Linked DNA regions of Homo sapiens: region 2 is linked to region 1. Evidence: promoter capture Hi-C in 16 types of primary human blood cells and fetal thymus (Javierre and others, 2016). All regions are on one chromosome and are shown on one strand. The core of a region is centred on a gene start or on the middle of the fragment in contact, and the rest is flanking DNA. Distances in the headings are between cores, read along the strand shown.

The links. Contacts are between HindIII fragments. The CHiCAGO score rates a contact against its expected background, and 5 or more counts as called.
Region 2: a fragment that was not itself captured here is called in contact with the fragment with the promoter of RAB6A in region 1 in 2 of 17 cell types (non-activated CD4 T cells and total CD4 T cells); the score reaches 6.2 in non-activated CD4 T cells.

Annotation. Positions count from the first base shown.
Region 1 is chr11:73,758,498-73,765,766 of GRCh38, forward strand. It overlaps RAB6A (RAB6A, member RAS oncogene family), which reads right to left and starts at 2,577. Exons shown (of 8, transcript NM_198896.2): 1 at 2,069-2,577. The coding sequence starts at 2,138. LOC124902711 (a long non-coding RNA gene) reads left to right here and starts at 2,661. Exons shown (of 2, transcript XR_007062775.1): 1 at 2,661-2,743; 2 at 3,240-4,603. RefSeq lists an enhancer at 1,728-2,228 and silencers at 2,525-2,834, 2,995-3,184. The HindIII fragment of the contact is 8,881 bases long and covers 1-3,294 here.
Region 2 is chr11:74,173,062-74,180,678 of GRCh38, forward strand. All of the region lies in intron 1 of PPME1 (protein phosphatase methylesterase 1), which reads left to right. Among named protein-coding and RNA genes, the nearest start is that of PPME1, 5.6 kb to the left of the region's middle. The HindIII fragment of the contact is 790 bases long and covers 1,181-1,970 here.

The sequences.
Region 1 (7,269 bases), core at 1,327-3,826:
TTAAAAAAAATCTAACCAGGCTTCAGTAATGGAGGGGGGAGGGTAGTAGAGGCTTAAACAAGGTACGAAATTAGAAGCCATAAAACTCTCCATTATGCATTAGAACATACACAAATACTCAAGAAATTCAAAGGAAACCTGAAGATACTTAGGAAGTTAAGCACTCCATTCATGCTAAAACCTTTTTAGGCAGGAAGATGAATAGGTTTTTTCATGCAAACTAAATAGCTGTGCATCACAACATAAGGAAGGCAATAATATCCTTAGAATGCACAATAAGCACTTTGGATCCTTTTTATCAATAATAACCAATAAACTATATTTTATGTTTGGGAACTATCCTGATATTGACACAGAAAAGCTGGACTAGAAGCAACTCCATAGGTTCTACCAAGTTACTCACCTAAAGACACAAGTTTATACTTACTTCAGGAAAATATATAAGCAAAAAGGAGGGAGATTGTATTTTTCCCCCCAAAAGGGAGGAGGGGAAGATAATCTACACATGAAAGGAGAAAAATGATTTCCCAGTTCTAACTGGAGGCAATTTTGCAAGAGTATTAACCTCTGTGATGGCATACAAATTAGTATAAATAGTTCAAAGTAGTAATAAAAGCTACGAATTTATATCACTTACATGCCTTCCAGTCAAAACAAATAACTAATGTTTTCTATAACCTCACCTAAAACACCTAGTAGGTACTCAATGTTTGATGACTCAGAACTAATCTCTCAATGTCTGAATTTTAAAGATGGGCATGCAAAGTATGAGAAAAACAAAGGAGGGTAATCATCTCTGAATTGTCGAGTGTCAAGTTTGTATAATACAGCATAAAACTGGAATTACTACAAGAAGTAATCGTAGATACAACCATCACAAAATTAGGATCTAGTATCTAATACAAAAGTACAGTGACAGCAGAACCTGACCAGGTAAATGACATAACAATTTCACTCATCAGACAGTACAGAATATTAAGCATAAAAGAATTATTTAGCCCAAATGGTATTTAAATCTAATTTAGGTAACTAGATGATGAGTCTGTTCCTACTCTACTCCATTTTCCAAAGGAAATCCGACAAAACAAAGATGTTTGTTATTCCAAGCCTTCTCTCACATGAATCCTCAATATATCATTGGAAAATACTCAAGAAGGAATGAATAATTAACATTTCCCCAGTAATTCCCTTTTGTACCACCATGAGACTCAGACGCTGCTTCATGTTGAAAAGAGAAAAAGGGGAGGTGAGATGAGAAAAATTCCAAGTAAAATGATCATGACATAGCATCTGGCAGAGATTGAAAAATCATCAACATTGCCAAAAGAATTGTCAGTGATGAAAGTCAAGAGAACAAAATGAGGTTTTCCGACAAGCCACAGCCCCATCTAACCTAAGGGGCAAAAATCTCCACTGCCGACGCTACCCCTTTCACCCCCAACCACCCCATGCTCAAGTCGTCTCCAATTCAGATGTTTCCTCTATGGCCCAGACTAATTTCCCACCCAGGTGAAAATCATTTAATTTTTTCTACTACCACCCCTTCCCACCTTCCACGACATCAGCACTTCGCAGGGCCAAGCCTCTGGGGAAAACAACGCCCAGATCCCACCCTCCTTGGCCAAGGTTGAAGAGGGCCCGCTCTCGGGAGTGGGGCTTCCCTGAGTGGGCCTCACAGAGCTGAGGAACTGGGAAAAGAGCAAGGAATAAGGGTGGGGCTCAAGAAAGGGGGCCGGGGTACGGGCAATGACCGAGACCGGAGGAAGAAAGGGATGGACAAGAGGCTGGGCGGGGTGAGGTCTGGGGAGGGAGGGCAGATCGACCGGAGATGGCCGGACTGCGGGGAACGGAGCCGGGGAGTCGAGGATTGAAGAACCCGGGGAACAGGGTAAAAACTCGGCCACTGGCGAAGAGCCAGTGGCACCGGGGGGCACATCGGGAAGGGCTGCGGTGGCAACGAGCGCGGACGCGAGGCGGGCAGGGAGCCTCCGCGGACGGAAGGGCCGCACCGGGGGCGGTGCGGGGACGCTGCGGCCAGCTGCCAGGAGTAGGGGAGCCACGCACTCACCGCTTTGCTCCCCCAGGAACACCAGCTTGAATTTCCTCAGCGGATTCCCGAAGTCTCCGCCCGTGGACATTGTGGAACTAGAGGAGCGGCCGCCGCCTCAGCCTAGAGACCTCCCGGACCGATGCTGCTCCAGCCAGCTGACGAAAAAGGCGAGCGGAAGGGCGGGCACCGAGCTCTCTCGGCCCCTGCAAGGCCCGGTGGAGGAGCCCGGCTGGAGGGCAGCAGGACTCTCCACAGACTGGCAGCCGCCGCCGCCTCCCGGCAGAGTAGCCTAGCACCGAGCGAGGCCCGCGGCTGGGAAGGGAAGGAGGGCGGTGTCGGCAGGAGCCAGGGGTGTCCTCTGGCTTCCCAAAGCTAGGGCCGTTCCCTCCTTCCGCACTCGGCTCCCAGACCTGGGGAAGAGAAGCTGAGGGTGGCGGAGCCGGAACCGCAGACGTATCTGGGACCTCTCACGCGCAGCGCCTGAGCTTCCACAGCTGCCGCCGCCGCCGCAGCCCAACCTGCTGAGTGCGCGAGCCTCTGGAGCGGCGCGGGGCGAGCCCGGGCGCGAGCCTGCGGCCCCGCCGGCCGCTGGCGTGCGTGCGTGCGTGCATGCGTGCGCGCCACCGCCATCGCCATCGCCTTCCTGGTTTGGACAGCTCTACCGGCTCCTCCCGCACGGCGGCGACGGGGCAGGTTAGGTTTCCACTGGCGTCAAAAGAAGCCAGGAGGAGGCGGGGCAAGCCAGGGATAAGTTAGTGGGAGGCTGGAGCCCTTACGTCACTTACATAATGAGCCAATCGGAAGGGGCTGAGGGCGAGCCCACACGCGAGTGAGGTGGCAGCGTGAGAGCGCGCGCAGCCCTCGAGCTGTGGAAAGCGGAGCACTGTGGCGGCCATAAGAAGTGTGGCGCCTCTCAGCCTGAGGGGAGGGGAAGGAAAGAAAGGGGAGGGGGAGAAGGGTGGGGCGGAGGCGGGGCCGGGACAAAGGTGGAATATGATCCCCCAAAAAGTGTGGGTGGGGTCCTATAGCCTTAAAATTTGTAATGGGAGCCTCTTTCCTGAGCCCTCAGCCGTGCCTCACAGTCCTCAGATCCCTTCTTCACCATTGCACACACCCCACCTTCTCCATCCTCTCATCATAATTCCTCACAGGCATCTTACTAAATAACATTCTCCTCCATTGCTCCCAGGAATGTTATAACTGCCAGAATCATGGCCTCCCAATTTTGCAGATGAGGAAACTGAAGCTTAGAGGGAGTAAATGACTTGCAAAATCCATAAAGCGGGCTGGGCGCGGTGGCCCACGGCTGTAATCCCAGCACTTTGGGAGGCGGAGGCGAGTGGATCACGAGGTCAAGAGATCGAGACCATCCTGGCCAACATGGTGAAACCCTGTCTCTACTAAAAATGCAAAAATTAGCTGGGGGTGGTGGCGCGCGCCTGTAGTCCCAGCTACTCGGGAAGCTGAGGCAGGAGAATCGCTTGAACCCGGGAGGCGGAGGTTGCAGTGAGCCGAGATCACACCACTGCACTCCAGCCTGGCGACAGAGCGAGACTCCATCTCAACAGAAAAAAAAAAAAAAAAAAAAAAAAAAAGCCGGGCGTGGTGGCTCATCCCTGTAATCCCAGCACTTTGGAAGGCTGAGTTGGGTGGATCACCTGACGTCAGGAGTTCCAGACCAGCCTTGGCCAACATGATGAAACCCCATCTCTACTAAAAATACAAAAAATTAACGTGGTGTGGTGGCGGGTGCCTGTAATCCCAGCTACTTGGGAGGCTGAGGCAGGAGAATCGCTTGAACACGGGAGGCGGAGGTTGCAGTGAGCCAAGGTCACACCATTGCACTCCAGTCTGGGCAACAAGAGCGAGACTCTGTCTCCAAAAAAAAAAATCCATAAAGCAGCTGGGCGCGGTGGCTCACGTCTGTAATCCCAGCACTTTGGGAGGCCGAGGCGGTAGAATCGCTTGAGCCCAGGAGTTCGAGACCAGGCTGGGCAACAAAGCAAGACACTATCTCTACAAAAAATAAAATAGCCGAATATCGTGGTGTGCTCCTGTAGTTCCGGCTACTCAGGAGCCTGAAGCAGAAGGATTGCTTGAGTCCAGGAGTTGGAGGCTGAGGTATGGCACCACTACACTGAAATCTGGGTGACAGAACAAGTCCCTGTCTTAAAAAAAAAAAAAAAAAACAAAAAAACTTTCTAAGTGAATAATAAAAAATATGTCCTTACATTTGTGTCTATACACAAATGTATATCATTTGTGTATATCATTCACAAAACATTTATGTACTTTTTCTCATTATTGGGGAGTTATTTGCTTAGCTGTAGAAATGACAGGATTGAAAAAGTGCCTTCTCAGGCCCAGGGATGAATTGCTGACCTAGAATAAATTACAGGGAAGAACCAAAGTTCTTAAAATATCATCTATTCTGGCCTATCAAGACAACAGCTATATCCTCAAACCATCTCTATCAAAATTTACTCCCTTCTGGTTCCTCTCCCAGCCATGTGCAGGTAGAACATGCATCTAAAATAAAATGGTAAAAACCTGGCTTGTAGCATGGACATTTGATTTTACAAGTAGTTTGTCAGATCTAATAGGGTCCTCTCCACCATTAACCCAGAACCCTGGCACATACAAAGAGCAGCTTAAACCAAGAAACTTTTTAAAAAGATTATGCAAACAAAAGTGAGTAGCTATTTTCTTTCTGATGGGTACCAAGTTTTCATTATGCTTCCTGAAATAGACTTTAAAGTAACATCTGAGGATTGGAACTATAATTACTTTGTACTTCCTACAGAACTTTATGAATCAGTCCTCCCTGCTGCTTTGGTCTCTGTAGTCACCTAGACAGGTGGTACTGTTCCCTGTCATTTTGAAGGGCCTTATGGTCTAGTCCACCTCTTACCTAAAATGTTTTAATGTTTTAAGCTTTCATTTTGCATTGACACATACACAGCCTCATTATCCTCTGAAGCTGCCTTCATATTACCAAGTACTCTGTGTAAGTTTTGTCTTCAGAGACTTTATGGCCTAAACATTGCATATTAAGTGCTGTAGGGTATAGCAAATGGAAAAATTACTCAGGAGAAAGAGGAATTAGAGAGGCCCTTTTCAAGAGTATTTTCACCAACATTTTCACCTTCATGATTTCCTACGCTCACTTCTCTTTACTGCAAACACTCTTCCCCTCCCTTCCCCACTCTTCCCCAATTCCTACTCATCCTTCAGTTAAAGAAATTGTCTTTTTTTTTTTTTCTTTTAAATCACTTACCACTTAAAGAAGTTGTCTTTGTCCATTCAGGCTGCTATAACAGAATACCATGACTGGGTGGCTTAAACAACAAATGTTTATTTCTCACAGCTGGAGACTGGAAAGTCCAAGAGCAAGGTACCAGAAGATACTGTGTCTGGTGAAGGCCCACTTCCTGGTTCATAGACAACCATCTTCTCACTGTGCCCTCACATGGCAGAAAGAGAGCAAGAAAGCTCTCTGGGCTCCCTCTTACAAGGGAACTAATCCCATTTATGAGCACTCCACCCTCATGACCTAATCACCTCCCTAGGGTCCCACCTACTAATACCATCACATTGGGGACTATAGTTTCAACATATGAATTTTGGGGAGACACAAACATTCAGTCTACCACACAAGTCTTGCTCCCATCTGCTCCCATCCCCACTAACAGTATAAGTACCTTTGCCTGTCCTATTGTATCCTATTCTTAATTGCTGTTCATTGTCAGTGTTCCCTACTTGACTGTAACCTCCACGAGGTCAGATCTCATCTTGTATCCCCAGTGCTTGAAGAGTGCTTGCTACATAGTAAGCATGCAGCAGATGTTTGCTGACAAAATCAAATAAAAGAGGAATTATTTTTCACTGTCTTCAAAGGATGAATGGGATTTGGGCATGCAGAGAAGGAAGGTTAAGAGCATTTTGGAGAAAGAGAACATTACCCAAAAATATGTCATGTAATTTGATACTTCTTTCCTAAACCATTACTTATGAAAAAGATGCTGAGAACAGATCTTGTAACTAAAAATTAGGAACAATGGGAGAGGACAGTCTTCACAGCTCCAAATTCAAAGTACCTAAAGCAGCTTTCATTATCTATTTAAAGGTCATATCTAAATTGAAGCCCAGGAGTATGTAGGGAATCTATCACACAGAAATTGTAATAAAATTATAGCTTATCTTCTGCCCTGAGAGACACAAAACTTCTTGCAGGAGGACTGAATTTTTTTTTTTTTTTTTTTTTTGAGACAGAGTTTTGCTCTTGTTGCCCGGGCTGGAGTGCAATGGCGTGATCTCGGCTCACCGCAACCTCCGCCTGTCGGGTTCAAGCAATTCTCCCACCTCAGCCTCCTGAGTAGCTGAGATTACAGGCATGTGCCATCACGCCCAGCTAATTGTGTATTTTTACTAGAGATGGGGTTTCTCCATGTTGGTCAGGCTAGTCTCGAACCCCCGACCTTAGATGATCTGCCCATCTTGCTCTCCCAAAGTGCTGGGACTACAGGCGTGAGCCACTGTGCTTGGCTGAAATTTCTCTTTTTCCTTTTTGGAGACAGAGTCTTACTCTGTCCAGGCTGGAGTGCAGTGGCCGATCTCGGCTCACTGCAACCTCCACTTCCTGGGTTCAAGCGATTCTCCTGCCTCAGCCTCCTGAGTAGCTGAGATTACAGAAGTGTGCCACCATGTCCAGCTAATTTTTGTATTTTCAGTAGAGACGGGGTTTCACCATGTTGGCCAGGCTAGTCTCAAACTCCTGACCTCAAGTGATCCTCCTGCCTTGGCCTCCCAAAGTGCTGAGATTACAGGCGTGAGCCACTGCGCCCAGTCAATTTCATCTTATTCTTAGTGACAGACACTAGTGGTTGCATATCCAGCAATGCACACATAACACACACACATACTTCCACCATATATACTAGAAATGACAGATGTGTTTCCAGCCTCCCTTCAGCTAAGTTATAGGCACATGAGTCCATCTGAGCCAGTGGGAGATGAAGGAAATGTGCTAGAGGCTTTTTTTATTCTAAGAGAAGAAGAGAGATAGAGAGACATATTTTCTTCCTTGATGAAAAGGAATAAATGAGAAAAAACTGCCATTTTTCTGCCATTGATGTAGCTGTGTAAGGACATGATATTTAGAGCTAAGATAGCTCTTCTGAACATTGAAGCTCTGCCTCCCGGGTTCACGCCGTTTTCCT
Region 2 (7,617 bases), core at 326-2,825, 410 kb after region 1:
AAATGAGAAAACTTTAGCAGGAGGAGATAGAGAGATAGACGCACAATAGAGGTAGAAGGCTACATAGAAGGTAAAGTGAAGATTGTTTTGGCTTTGGAAGACAGAAAAGTTGGACTATAACATGAATAAAGAGAATTTGGAAACTGACCCATAACATTATTTGGGAAAACTAACCTGGAGTTTAATATTAATGTAACATTAATTGTTGTTAAATATCTTAGTTGCTGCCTTTCTTAAAATAAATTTGATTTTTCAGTATACCAGCACCCTTCTATACAAATACATAAGAAAATCAGATTTTTAATAATTATACATTCCTTAGATAAGCTTAATTAGAGCTCAGCTTCTCATCTTGGAGAAACAAGTTCTCTGAAGATTGAAGAACTGAATGAAGATACTGAGAGAAAAAAAAAGGAAAATCTGCTGATTAGAAGATTGTATAATTGTTAGTAATTTATCGTTTTTATTTTTTATTACTTTTCATTTTATTTTTTTTTAGAGACAGAGTCTCACTCTGTTGCCCAGGCTAGAGTGCAGTGGCACAATCTCGGCTCACTGCAACTTCCACCTCCCGGGCTCAAGTGATTCTTGTGCCTCAGCCTCCCAAGTAGCTGGGATTACAGGCATGCACCACCACGCCCGGCTAATTTTTGTATTTTTAGTAGAGAGGGGATTTCGCCATGTTGGCCAGGCTGGTCTTAAACTCCTGGCCTTAAGTGATCTGCCCCACTTGGCTTCCCAAAGTACTGGGATTATAGGAGTGAGCTACTGTGCCTGGACAACTTACCTTTTTAAAAAGATGCTTTGGTCTTCTTGGTTTAGGTTAACTGCTTATCCTGGAAAAGAAAGTTCTTTAGAAAGGCCTTTCTTTATGATAGTATTGTGAAGAGAAGAGCATATATTGGCGAATATTTGTGTGGTCCTCAAATGGCTTATTTTCCCGTATCTTTCTTTTCTACTTTATTGGTATATAAGCAGGCTTCATCTAAGTCTCATGGTAGTAATAATATAGATTCTCTTTCTCCTTAGAATCATAAAGCTGAGAGAAAGCATAGACATGGTCTCATTTCACCACTTCATGTAGTTGAGGAACCCAATATTCAGAGAGTTCTGTATTCTATAAGGGAATGTATTAATAAATGAGGGAACTGAGACTCAGATATTCCTAAGGTACCCTAGAAGCTTAGCGGTAGGGCCGTTAAGGACTAGGACTTGGGTCTCTTGACTGTGAGACCCATTGTGTATTTTGGAGTCATAATTGTCATCTGGGGATACTTATTTTGAGTTGTGTATCTTACTCATTTGCATATAATCTAGGATTCAGTCTTTTTCTTCAGTCGTAATTTATGAAGTCTCACACCAATTTCAAAGCATTCTTTATGTCTCCTTATGCTTACTTGCTTTTTTCTTAACTTCCATTCTTCCACTCTATCTATGTTACTCACAAGTTAGTCCTGTTCTCTTGATAGTCTCTTGTGTGGCTTACTCTTAACTATTTTTCATGATCTCTTGCCTTCAATTTCACTAAACATTATTTAGGCATGTTTGCATATTCAGGGTGCATATTCTGAGTTGGTGATTTTTCATGAGTTTCCATAATTCAGTTTTTCAGATTAGATTTAGTAATTCCAAAGTATTGTTGGATAATTTAATAATAGCAATTTTTAAAGTAAGTACTGTGTGCCAGACATTGTAATGGTAACTTTATGTTATTTAATGTGTCCACAGACCTGCATGGTGAATATTTTCCTGCATTGTGGGTAAAGACATTCAGACCCAGAGATTAAAAGTAACCCAACTAGTAGGTAGCAGAGCTAGGATTCAATCTAAGTTTAGTCTCTAGAATCCATTCACTTTTCAGTACACTAATATTTTCTCTTGGGTAAGGCCTGAAATCCTGGTGTCACTCTTCCTTTTAATAGATGCCAATGGATGTTGCCAAAAACAGTGGTTTTGAACTTCTTTATTAAAGCTTTTAGAGCTACTCTGACTAAAGTAGATTTGAGATCCCTATTTGCTTTGCACCCCTGGTGTGCTTGAGAGAAGTATCTTTTGAAAGTCACTGCTTTCGTATATACTATTACTATTAGAGGAACTATAAAATATTAAAGCCATTCATTATTCAACGTGTTTTTGGTTTATCAGTAGTTGTACTTTTTGGCCAGGTGTGGTGGCTCATGCCTGTAATCTCAGCACTTTGGGAGGCCGAGGCGGGTGGATCACCTGAGGTCGGGAGTTCAAGACCAGCCTGACCAACATAGAAAAACACCGTCTCTCCTAAAAATACAAAATTAGCTGGCGTGGTGGCACATGCCTGTAATCCCAGCTACTCAGGAGGCTGAGGCAGGAGAATCACTTGAACCTGGGAGGCGGAGGTTGTGGTGAGCCGAGATCGCGCCATTGCACTCCAGCCAGGGCAACAAGAGCGAAACTCCATCTCAAAAAAAAAAAAGTTCTACTTTTCTATTATTATCTCTTAAATTCCTTTTTTTTTCTTTTGCAAGAGATAGAGTCTTGCTGTGTTGCCCAGGCTGAAGTACAGTGGCTTTTCACAGGCATAATCTTGGTGCATTACAACCTCAAACTCGTGGGCTCAAGCAGTCTTCCCACTTCATCCTCTTGAGTAGGTAGGACTGAGGATACATGCTAGCATGCCCAGCTCTGTAGTGATTTAACTGACATGTATATAGTAGTCCCTTTTTATATTCTATGAGGTAAACTAGGGCAGGAGTTAATATTTTCTTTTAATAAATGAGAAAACTGAAATGTTCATTGACTTGCCTAAGATCACAGAATCATTATGTGGCAGGAACAACATTCAAACCCAGGACTTCGTATTTTTAGTCCATTGTTCTTTCTATAGCTTGCATTGAAGGGTTTGATATTTGAAGTGACAAAGATCTAAGTTTGAAGCCCAACTTAGGTATTTACATTGGTCGAGTCATTTAACTTCTCATAGTCTATTTTCTTATCTCTAAAATGAGAATACTTCTGCTTACCTGAGAGTGCTGTGAGAATAAGATAATACATAAAAAGCACTTATAGTTCCTGACACTGACACATAAGCTCTTAAAGAATGATAGCTAGTAGATAATTATACATTGAGAACTGTGAAGAAGGTTCATAGTTTATGTGGAAGCTCTCCTTTCAGTTTCTTATGTTATCAGCTTTTTTGTCCCCACAAGCTGTATGTTTATTCATATCTGATTAGATAGTCTTTCATCCATCTTCTTAAATTTATTATGGATATCAGGCCTCTTAGGAAGGCTTTAATGAGCTATTCACACAGATGGGGAAATAAAGGGCAAAGTGAAGTGATTTGCTCAAGGTCACAAATTGAGTTACTAAAATAATCAAATCCCAGTATTTCTGTTTTTTTTTTTATTTTTTCATTAGATTTTTAAAAAGTTAAATTTATATGCCATAGAATTCACTCTTTTAAATGTACAATTCAGTGATTTTTGGTATATTCACTCAGTTGTACAATTACCACCACTAATTGCAGAACATTTTCATCCTCCCATAAACTCGTTACTCATTAGCATCTTCCCTTCCTCCCAGCATGTATTGCTTCTGGATCTTGAGTCACAGAAAGGCTTTTCCTTTTTTTGGGTTATAAAGGAATCATTTATATTTTTTCCTGGTACCTGTGTAGTGTCCTTTTTTTTTTTTTTTTTTTTTTTGAGACAGAGTCTTGCTCTGTCACCGAGGCCGGATGGAGTGCAGTGGTGTGATCTTGGCCCACTACAACCTCCACTTCCCGGGTTCAGGCGATTCTCCTGCTTCAGCCTCCCAAGTAGCTGGGATTACAGGCATGCACCACCACACCCAGCTAATTTTTGTATTTTTAGTAGAGACGGGGTTTCATTATGTTGGCCAGGCTGCTCTTGAACTCCTGGCCCCAGGTAATCCACCCACCTCAGCCTTCCAAAGTGCTGGGATTACAGGCATGAGCCAATTTTTTTTTAATCCATTTGAAGTTTATCTTGATATGCAAAGTGAGGAAAAGAAGACATTTTATTTTTATCCAAAGGCTATCTAGTTGTTTTCATCATTTATTAAATTTTTTAGTCCTTTACCCATTACGTAAATTTCACTACAATAAAGAAATAGTCCTGGCCAGGCTCAGTGGTCCATGCCTGTAATCCCAGCACTTTGGGAGGCCAAGGCATGTGGACCACTTGAGCTTGGGAGTTGGAGACCAGCCTGGACAACATGGTGAAACCTCTTCTCTACAAAAATCACAAAAATTTAGCTGGGTGTGGTGGTGTGTGCCTGTAGTCCCAGCTACTCTGGAGGATCATTTGAGTCCGGGAAGCAAAGGTTGCAGTGAGCCAAGATAATGCCCCTGCACTCTAGCCTGGGACACAGAGTGAGACTTTGTCTCAAAAAAAAAAAAAAAAGTCTTCTTTCTCACTGATTAAAATGACACCTTTGTCATATGCCAAATTTCTATATAAATCCGGGTCTGTGGAGTTTCTTTTACGTGCCACTACTGTACTTTTAATTAGAGGATTTATTAATATGTTTTGATGGGTGGTAGAGGTTGTTTACCCCTCATTCATTTTGAGGATTTTCGTGGTTCCTCTTGTTTTTTTCTCACAAATAAACTTTCTAATCCCATAGACTAGTGCCAGAAAAAAATCCTGATAGTATTTTTATTGGGATTACATTAAATACAAACATTAATTTAGAATAAACGTTTTTATGATGTTGAATGTTCCTTGAAGAAATATGGTATCTTTCAATTTGTATGAATCCCTTTTGAAGGAAATATATTTCAGATTCCAAGTATTGACCTAAGTTATATTCAATCTAATATTACTTAAATTCAATAGTACTCTTAAATAATTGTGAAACTCAGTAGATTTACTCTTTAAATACAATTAAGTCTACAAAAATCCCCAAACTCACATTAGCAACATTATATTGATGTGAAACAATCTAATTTGCTGTTATCAGTTTACTGTAGTTTAAACTACAAGGACATTTATTATTGATAGGATGTTCCAGGGTTCATTCAGTTGCTAAACAATTTCATTCAGGACCCAGGCTGTTTGCATCCTTTCTTTTGCCATCCTTAGAATGGTGGCTTTTCCTTCTCTTGCTTGTCACCTTATGGTTGCAGGATGGCTGCTGCCACTCTACTTCTATCTTATCTTTACAAATAAAAAGAAGCGGGGGCCAAAGTCCTTTCCTAGCTAAGCTTGTCTTTTAATTTTTTCCCAGAAATGCAAGCTCCCCAACAGATTTTTCCCTTAAGTCTTATTGTCCAGAACTGTTCACATACCCATCCTAAAACCAATCACTGGCAGTAGGGAATGGGATTAACTATGACTGGTTTAGACCAATTTTGATTCATTCCCTTGGACTGGAGGAGAGACAACAAGAGATCTCCACTAGCTGCTCAAACAAAAGTATTACAATTCTGTTAGGGAAGAGAGAGTGGGAAGTGGGCAGGTAATGTCTGGAATAGAGAATAAACAGCATCTGGCCCAAATCCTGAGGTTAACAAGTGGAGAAGCCTAATCTTCTGATTTCAACTTCCCTACTGTTTTCATTGCAGTGTAAGTATAGGAAGTAATAATCCCACCCCCAACTCCCCTGCCCCTTATTGCCAGATTTCAGCCCCTTGACATTCATTTCAGAACTTCTGAGTAAAAGTCCGTTTTTCCATTGTTGCTTATTGCCAGCAAATCTATTTCTTCTTAGTATCTCCAAAATTGGGTAATTTGCTCTTTTGTTTTATTTTAAACCTAATGAGCCTTCCATGTTATGCTACTTGATGTCAGATTTCAGAAAACATCTCTAGTTGTTTGGGAAAGACTGTTTCCTTCAAACTACAAAATAGTTTTTTTTTTTTTAAGAGAAGAAACTTTTAATTAATAGTTCTATTAAGAGGGTGGCCACACTTAGATATTCTTCAAATACAATATTGATTACAAGTTACAGGTATATTCTACCAATATATTTTGAAGATTGAATAAGAGATTATATTGAAAATTCCAATCATTTCAAACCACACCGGAAGACCGAAGTTGTTTACTTATCAGTCCTTTTCCTATATGCTTCTGTGTGTGTTTTTGGCCATAGACTTTTTCCAGGTTTAAGTAGACATCCTCTCTCTGCCACTAACAAGTTGTATGACTCTGGTCAGTTTCTCTTCCTGGGCCTCGTTATCATGGAAAGAAAGAACGCTTTGGCACCTGACGTACTTGTTTAAATCCAAGCTCCCCAGCCTGGGCAACATAGGAAAAACTTGTCTGTACTAAAACAAAACAAAACAACCAGGCATGGTGGTGCGCACCTGTTAGTCCCAGCTACTTGAGAGACTGAGATGGGAGAATCACTTGAGCCTGGGAGTTTGAGGTTGCAGTGTGCTGTGATCGTGCCACTGCACTCCAGCCTGGGAGACAGAATGAGACCCTATCTCTAAAAATAGTAATTATAAAATAAAAAGTCAAATCCAAGCTCCGGTGCTACCAAAAATGGCTCTGGGAAAGTTATTTAGTATTTCTGAGTCACCTTAAAATGAGAATACTTTAATGGTACTGTTCAAAACCATGCTTGGTACGTAATAAACACCTAGTTGTTTCCTTTCATAAAGTAAGATTTGAGTTAGATGATCTCTAACAGCATGATTCATGATGTAGTTTTTAGAATCCTGAAGTCTGCTGCTTAATGGCATGCCTTGGAGTAAGGAACACTTCAGACCTACCACAACCCTCAGCCAGCCATCTGGTTGCTTTCTTTTCATTCTCTTCAAAGTACTGCTAATAAGGACATTTTAAAAACAGTGGTGCCTTGATTTAAATAGCTGGCTGCAATTAAACTTCAGTATTTAGCCTCCACTACCAGACTCCTAGACTTTGACAGAATTTGTGACAACAAGTGATTAAGACTGCTACTGTGCCCATTCATGACTCATCAATAACTCTCTTAACAGACTTAAGCAGCCTAGATGTTGATGTGTTATTCCTATTTAGATTTGAGACATTCATGTAAAAACATACAACTTACATTTCTTGGTTATTGTTCTCTAGGCAAGGAAGGTTTTTCCTCCTTCCCTTTCTCCCCTTTCTCTCCTTCCTCCTGGCTTTCCTTAGGATTTGATCATATAATTTTGTTGGTTTTGGTCATTATCTCCTAGTAGGCATATCACATTGTAGACAAGCAGAACATTCTCTATTCTCCTTAGTCCTCTGAATTGTAATTATTGGTCAACTGTGTATTCCTCAAAACTGTTGAGGTTCATAAGGGTAGGAATTGTGTCTGAATTTTGCTGGTGCTTAGAATGCTGTCTCCTTTAGTGCTAACTGAACGAGAAACCCAAATCCTGGCCTATTTAACCCCGTTCTATAAGAACAACGTTATTTCCCCATCAGTTCCCTTAAGATGGTATAACTAGGGCTATACTGCCTTTCTCCTAAAAGCGGTTATACTTCATAGAATAATAGAATCTCTATTTCAATACCAGCTTTTAGGTAAAATGTATTGTGTTTACAATATGTTACTTTGAGATTTAAAATAATTATATGGTCGAAACTCTTGTAATAGGTCTTGTAATAGGCTTGTAATAGGTCTCATGATATGTACAGATTCAGGCTTGTTACTTTT